Regions from separate parts of the Homo sapiens genome. Here region 2 is linked to region 1. The links are contacts of gene promoters, found by promoter capture Hi-C in blood cells and fetal thymus (Javierre and others, 2016). All regions are on one chromosome and are shown on one strand. Each heading gives the region's core, a stretch centred on a gene start or on the middle of the fragment in contact. The rest is flanking DNA. Distances are from core to core; before and after follow the strand shown.

Region 1 (2,919 bases), core at 162-2,661:
TAGAACTTAACCTGCCTTCAAGACCTCACTCACTATAATCACAGCAATTTCAACCACCCGAATCTTTCCCACCAATTGGTCTAGCTCTGAGTCCAGGTTTGCTTGTTTGTTTTGACATGGAGTCTCGTTCTGTCACCCAGACTGGAGTCCAGTGGTGCGATCTTGGCTCACTGCACCCTCGGCCTCCTGGGTTCATGCACTTCTCCTGCTTCGGCCTCTCACCTCACCAAGTTTGTTTACGTTTACCAAGGGGCTGTAGTGCTGGCTGTATTTTCTTTACTTTTTTTCTTTTTTCTTTTGAGACGGAGTTTCGCTCTGTCCCCCAGCCTGGAGTGCAGTGGCGCCATCTCAGCTCACTGTAACCTCCACCTCACAGGTTCAAGCAATCCTCCTGCCTCAGCCTCCCGAGTAGCTGGGATTACAGTCACCCACCACCACGCCCGGCTAATTTTTTTTTTTTTTTTTTTTTTTGTATTTTCAGTAGAGACGTGGTTTCCTCATGTTGGGCACGCTGGTCTCGAACTCCTGACCTCAGGTGATCCGCCTGCCTTGGCCTCCCAAAGTGGTGGGATTACAGGCGTGAGCCACCACGCCCGGTCAGCATTTTCTTCTTTTAAACATGTAGTATGAAGTCTTTGCCTGTTTGGTGGACCGTGAGTCTGTTCAGTCCTGGCTTACACTGTTTTCCCCCATGACTGGTTAGTTGGTGAGGAAGGAGCTACTCACTCGTTACTGGGAGTCCAGACACAGCCTGAAACCAGCCTGGAGGGTGATTTCTCAGCCTAGCTAATACATCCGCGCAAGAGAGATCTTTTTAAGTCACAAAACCCTCCCACGGTTCCGCAAAGCCCTCGGATGGCCTCCAGCTCCCCAGCCTGGCACACAGCCTTATTCCTTAGCAGGCCTCCGGACACTGTGACTTTGCGTTCTTGACTGTGAGGCACTGAAATCTCCCGGCTGCCCGATTTCCTGCCAGACGCGGAGTTCTCACCGCCAAGCCTTTGACTAAACTGTCGACTGGGTCCCACCCCACTTGCTTTCACTCACCAAGACTCTGCTCAAGTGTCACCTCCTCCGGGGACCCACCATGACCCTCCCCGACCTCCTCACCCCAAGCCTGGCCGCCGTGTTGCCTTACCCGATCCCCAAGTCTCGAGGGCGAGTCCAGTCGGGTTCCTGCAAGGCTGGCGCCCAAGCCCCTGCCCTGTGAGACCCACCCCCGTGTGCCCCTAGGGAGAGATGCAGGAAGGAGGGCCGGGGCCGCAGCTCCCCCGTACCTGGCCTGGTGGAGCAAACTCTCCGCTCCTGCCGAGAACATCACGCCGCCGCCACCAGACGCGCACGAACCTCGGAAACTCCAGGAGCTGCAGCCCAGGAGCTCCGCACCCCGGTCAACTTCCGGGACCGCGTCACGTGAGCGCAGCGGCCTTACGTGGCTGCGTCACGTGCCGCATCACATGAGCAGGAGGGACAGGTTGCCGACCAATGGGCTTTGGCGTGGAGCGACTGGGGCGGGGCGTAGGTGCCGCGGCCGGGGGTCCGGGTCGGCGCCTGGGAGCTGCGGAATCGCGCGACCCCGGAACCTCGGCACTCTGGAGCCCCGGCGCCCTTCGACCCCGGAAAGCATTTCGGCGGAAATTGGGCGCCTGGGGCTTTGGGAGAGGGCATTGCTGGCCCCAAAGTGTCACTGCCCCAGTTCTGGTTTCTGTTTCGTAAACAGCTTTGTCGTGCGGGAGTCCCTTTGCTAAGTACGACCTGAAAATCTGATGCAAACTCCGACACTTGTGGGCTGAGCCCAGCAGTGTCCAGCAGTTTGCAAGGAATAGCCGCGGCTCTGGGCAGTTTTGGGGATTTTTTGAGCTCCCATTTATTGAGCACCCATCCCGCGCTGTTCCTGCTGCTTGAAACGAAAAAATCCCTTATTCAATCCCCACGGTATTCATGGGATCTCGCGATCTCTGTTTTACAGATGAGGCCACAGGCTCGGAGAGGGGAAGTTTCTGTTCATTCTAACGGATGTGTTGGGTGCCCAAATGTGCTGGGCCCTGGCCATAAGTTTGCCATCCTGCAGACGGCCGAGGGACACAGGGCGACACGCCAGCGTCATGATAAACGCTATGACAGCCTGACCTGGTTGGGGGTCCAACCGGAGGAGGAAGGCTTCGGCGACTGCGGCCTAAGATGAGCCCAGAGGGTGTCCAGACCAAGGGGTGGGGAGGGACGGGCCTAGGGTAGCGATCTGCTTCCTATGGCTTAAATGCACCCCAGGAGGAAACTGATCTCTGGCCGCAGGGGAGATAATGGATTGGGAAGCTCCTGAGGGAGAAAGGAGGCTGGTGCAGTTGTGGTCCAGGTAAGGGAGGTTGCCCCGAAAGTAGGCAGATTCAGTACCATTTAGAGGTAGGATTTGCACCACCTGTGATTGAGGAATTTGCAGGCAGGAGGAAGAAAGTGGAAAAATCAAGGGTAACTTCATGTTTGTGGGGTGTCTGTCTGGGGCAGAAAAGGACGAGGAAATTTGTGCCAAGAGTCATTCATTAAGTGGACAAGCGATGATTGAGTCCTAGCTGCGCTAGGCACTGCTGAAGGTTCTGGGGAATAGGGTAGGGGTGGGAATCAATGTTGCGTAGATAGGGTGGGTCAAGGTTAGGCCTTGAAGGGATAAGCCCCGAGAAGACCCCTGGATGGAAGGAAGGAGGAGGAGGAGGGAGGGCTTCCTGCAGGAGTTCCAAACATGGCTTTGAGATGCCCTAGGGCGCCCAGTGATGTCTGAGGGCACCTGGTGCAGAGAATGAAGAGATGGGAATCGGTGGATGGTGAGCGGTGGATGGGAGTCGGTGGAGTGCGGCGGGTGCCCCTGGAGCCGCAGGTTGAAGACTGGCAAAGGAAAGCTGGTGACAGGTAGTCTATGGAAAGCCT
Region 2 (2,919 bases), core at 274-2,773, 2.0 Mb after region 1:
TTCATTCACATGTCAGAGACAAAGCCCAGGAGTCTGGATTGTGAAGTAAACGCTGAGCCCGACCACAACCACTGTGAATACTGGGCAACTGGGGCGTCTCAGAGGATTCAGGTAATTGAACAAATAGACTTCATACGGAATCTCAACTCTCCTCTGGTCAGCAATATCAGATGTACTTCTGTGTGAATAATAAACCAGACTGCCTGGATGCGGGAGCACACGCCTGGAATCCTGGCACTTTGGGAGGCTGAGATGGGAGGATCACTCCAGCCTAGGAGTTTGAGACCTGCCTGGGCAACATAGTGAGATCCCATCTTTATTAAAAAAAAAAAAAAAAAAGAAATTAGCTGGGGATAGGTGGCACGTGCCCGTGGTCCCAGCTACTCAGGAGGCTGAGGCAGGAGGATCACTTGAGCCCACTTCAGTTTGAGGCTGCAGTGAGCCATGATTGCACCACGGCCCCCTAACCTGGGCAACAGAGTGAGACCCTGTCTCAAAACCAAAATGATAAAAAATACTCAACCAATCAGAGGACACCAGCACAGCAGCCTTAGGAAGACTTCTAGAAAGTATAGGCAAGCCTCACTTTAGGTGCGTACCCTGTTCTCATGCCCCTGTAGTGTTGCTATAGGAAAGAAGGGTGCATAATTGGATTCACTTTAACCAAGACTCTAAAGCAACAGCTCAGCTGAGCTCCTTCTCTCTCCGTCTCCCTCGCTCTCTGCCAGCCATGGAGGCCACTGAGTGGGGATCTCAGTGCAGAGGTCCCGGCCTCGCCTGCCCAGGGAGCTTTCTTGTTCCAGGCGACAGGAAAAGCAGAGCCTGTGGGGGAGGCATTTTGTGCAGGGAAGGCACATTTAGAAGAAGCTTTGGTTTCCTGGACAAGCCCAGGCTTTCTCATTCTTACCAGGGATCTTCCTTAGATGCTTGTCCTTGGGAAGTGTAAATGTGTTCACTGCAGCTCTTTCTGCATATTTTAGACCTTAAAATAATTGTTTTTTGTTTCGAGCTAGCCTTAGATTACAGGACCATTGAGAATTGAGACACTGCTTGGGACATGGACTGGAGCTTCATCCTCAGCCATAGAGCAGCACTGCTGCCGGGGTTGAGGGAGCTCGGGGAGCTTTTCCAGACAAAACCTTTGCTCCAGGCGTTTGGCAGGGCCATAGGAAGAGCTCCTTTGTGGGCTCCCTGAGCTGGAACTCGGCCTTCTCCGCCCGATGAAGCAAACAAACTGTGCCGAGGGCGCACCGGCATTTGTGCCGTCAGCAAGCCGGGCTGTGTCTCAGCCTCACAGCACTCCTCCCACGGGCCTGGGAAGGCAAATGTGTTTTCTGAACTGTGTTGAGACCGTGTGTGTGTGTGTGTGTGTGTGTGTGTGTGTGTGTGTGTTGGGGTGTCTTGTGAAGTCCTGCTAACCTCTTGTCAGCAGAATATTCGAGAAATGCTTCTGAGAAGAGAGAGGAAGATGACTTCAGAGGCTGCTTGTGGTCTCTCACTCAAGGCTGGTAGGGAGCCCCGGTCTGCGTCCTGGAGGAACGGCACGCTGAGTCCTGGGCCAGTGGCCGGCGGGGCTGTTGGCGACCACAGTAGCACACAAGGGCTCTTTCTGAGGAGCAGGAGACCCTGGCACGGGCCCCACGGGAGTGTCTGGGGCGTCCCCGCCTGTGGCCTCTTCTCCCCGCCGCAGCACCAATGGCTCCACGAGCAGGGCTCGGAGCTGGCCCTCTCCTGCTTCGGAGCCGCGCTGACTGGGTGTGTGGCGGATGGGAGGCCGCCCTGAGTGCTCCTCCTCCCTTTTGTACAGCCTGGGTGGAAAGGACGGGCCTGGTGCACTTCCTGCGGGAGGGAGGACATGGGGCCTGCTTCCCTCTGGCGCTCCTCCACCCGGGCAGCGTGGTTTCTTTCCAAATGATTTATCCTCTCATCGTCCTGCCGCTCTGTGCTTCATGGCATTGGGGTCTTATCCGGAAGGGGATTGTCCTTTTTTGGGTTTGTAAATGTAATTTTCAGGAAATGTCATTGGATCTAACTCCAGAATAGAAGGCGTGGTGGAACTGCTTTTGTAGTCCACAGTTAGGCTACTCACACCTCAGGCCCCGCACACGGGTGGGTTCAGAGGCTGGACTTTGGAGTTAAGTAGCGTTTTTGCCCTTGGCCAAGTTAACGTCTAAGCTTTGGTTTCCTCAGTGAGGAAAGTGGGAACCGCCATACCGTGTCTGGATTCGGTGGGATCGTGTGTGTCCAGCAGCAGTCGCGCAGCGCCTGGCGTGAGTGGTGGGTGCACGCCGGCCCCGCCATGTGCACCTTCTGTGACGACCCTAAGTCAGGGTGGTGTTTCCTAGCAGTGCAGAACACGAAGCCCTTACAACTTCTCCTAGAAACGAAGCCTGGGTTGACCCCTCCACCTCAGGGTGAGAGCTTTTGGTATTTTGAGTCAGTATTTTTGGCATGTCTTGTTTTCACAGGTTTCTCTGCCGCTTTCGCTTTTTTCTGGAGGGGCTGGAGGTAGGGACAGTAATGAAGGTAAGGAATGCGGATGGAGCCGCAGTTCTCTGCGAGTGTTCTGTGTGAGTGCTGGGAGGCCTCGGTGAGGTTAGGCTGTGGTGCTGGGTGGACTGGTGGGCGGCTGGACACTCCACATTTTTCCCTTACATTTGGACATTCCGTGGATACGACAGATGGGAAAACTGGACCAGCTGGAAGCCGAATTTTACGTTGTGACCTAAAGAGCTGTTAGGTACTCAGCACTATCCAGGGTATGAAAGCAGCATTAGTTGGTCATCTCTTCACGTTTTAATGAACGTGAAGTGCCGATGCTCTTTTCATTTTCCAGTGGCCCATCTTGTCAACTCTTCATTGTTTTTTAAGCAAATTCAAGGATTCGGTCAAAGGAGAACCAATAGCTGCAAATTGTAA

What was found. Contacts are between HindIII fragments. The CHiCAGO score rates a contact against its expected background, and 5 or more counts as called.
Region 2: a contact is called between a fragment that was not itself captured here and the fragment with the promoter of AP5Z1 in region 1, in 1 of 17 cell types (M0 macrophages). The highest score is 5.7, in M0 macrophages.

Annotation. Positions count from the first base shown.
Region 1 is chr7:4,774,115-4,777,033 of GRCh38, reverse strand. It overlaps AP5Z1 (adaptor related protein complex 5 subunit zeta 1), which reads right to left and starts at 1,411. Exons shown (of 17, transcript NM_014855.3): 1 at 1,278-1,411. The coding sequence starts at 1,318. RefSeq lists enhancers at 733-842, 863-922, 1,263-1,332, 1,763-1,852, 1,893-1,942 and 2 more and a silencer at 1,453-1,582. The HindIII fragment of the contact is 11,700 bases long and covers 1-2,919 here.
Region 2 is chr7:2,761,665-2,764,583 of GRCh38, reverse strand. All of the region lies in intron 2 of GNA12 (G protein subunit alpha 12), which reads left to right. It also overlaps a transcript of AMZ1 not described here. Among named protein-coding and RNA genes, the nearest start is that of AMZ1, 75 kb to the right of the region's middle. RefSeq lists enhancers at 965-1,493, 2,024-2,553. The HindIII fragment of the contact is 1,308 bases long and covers 870-2,177 here.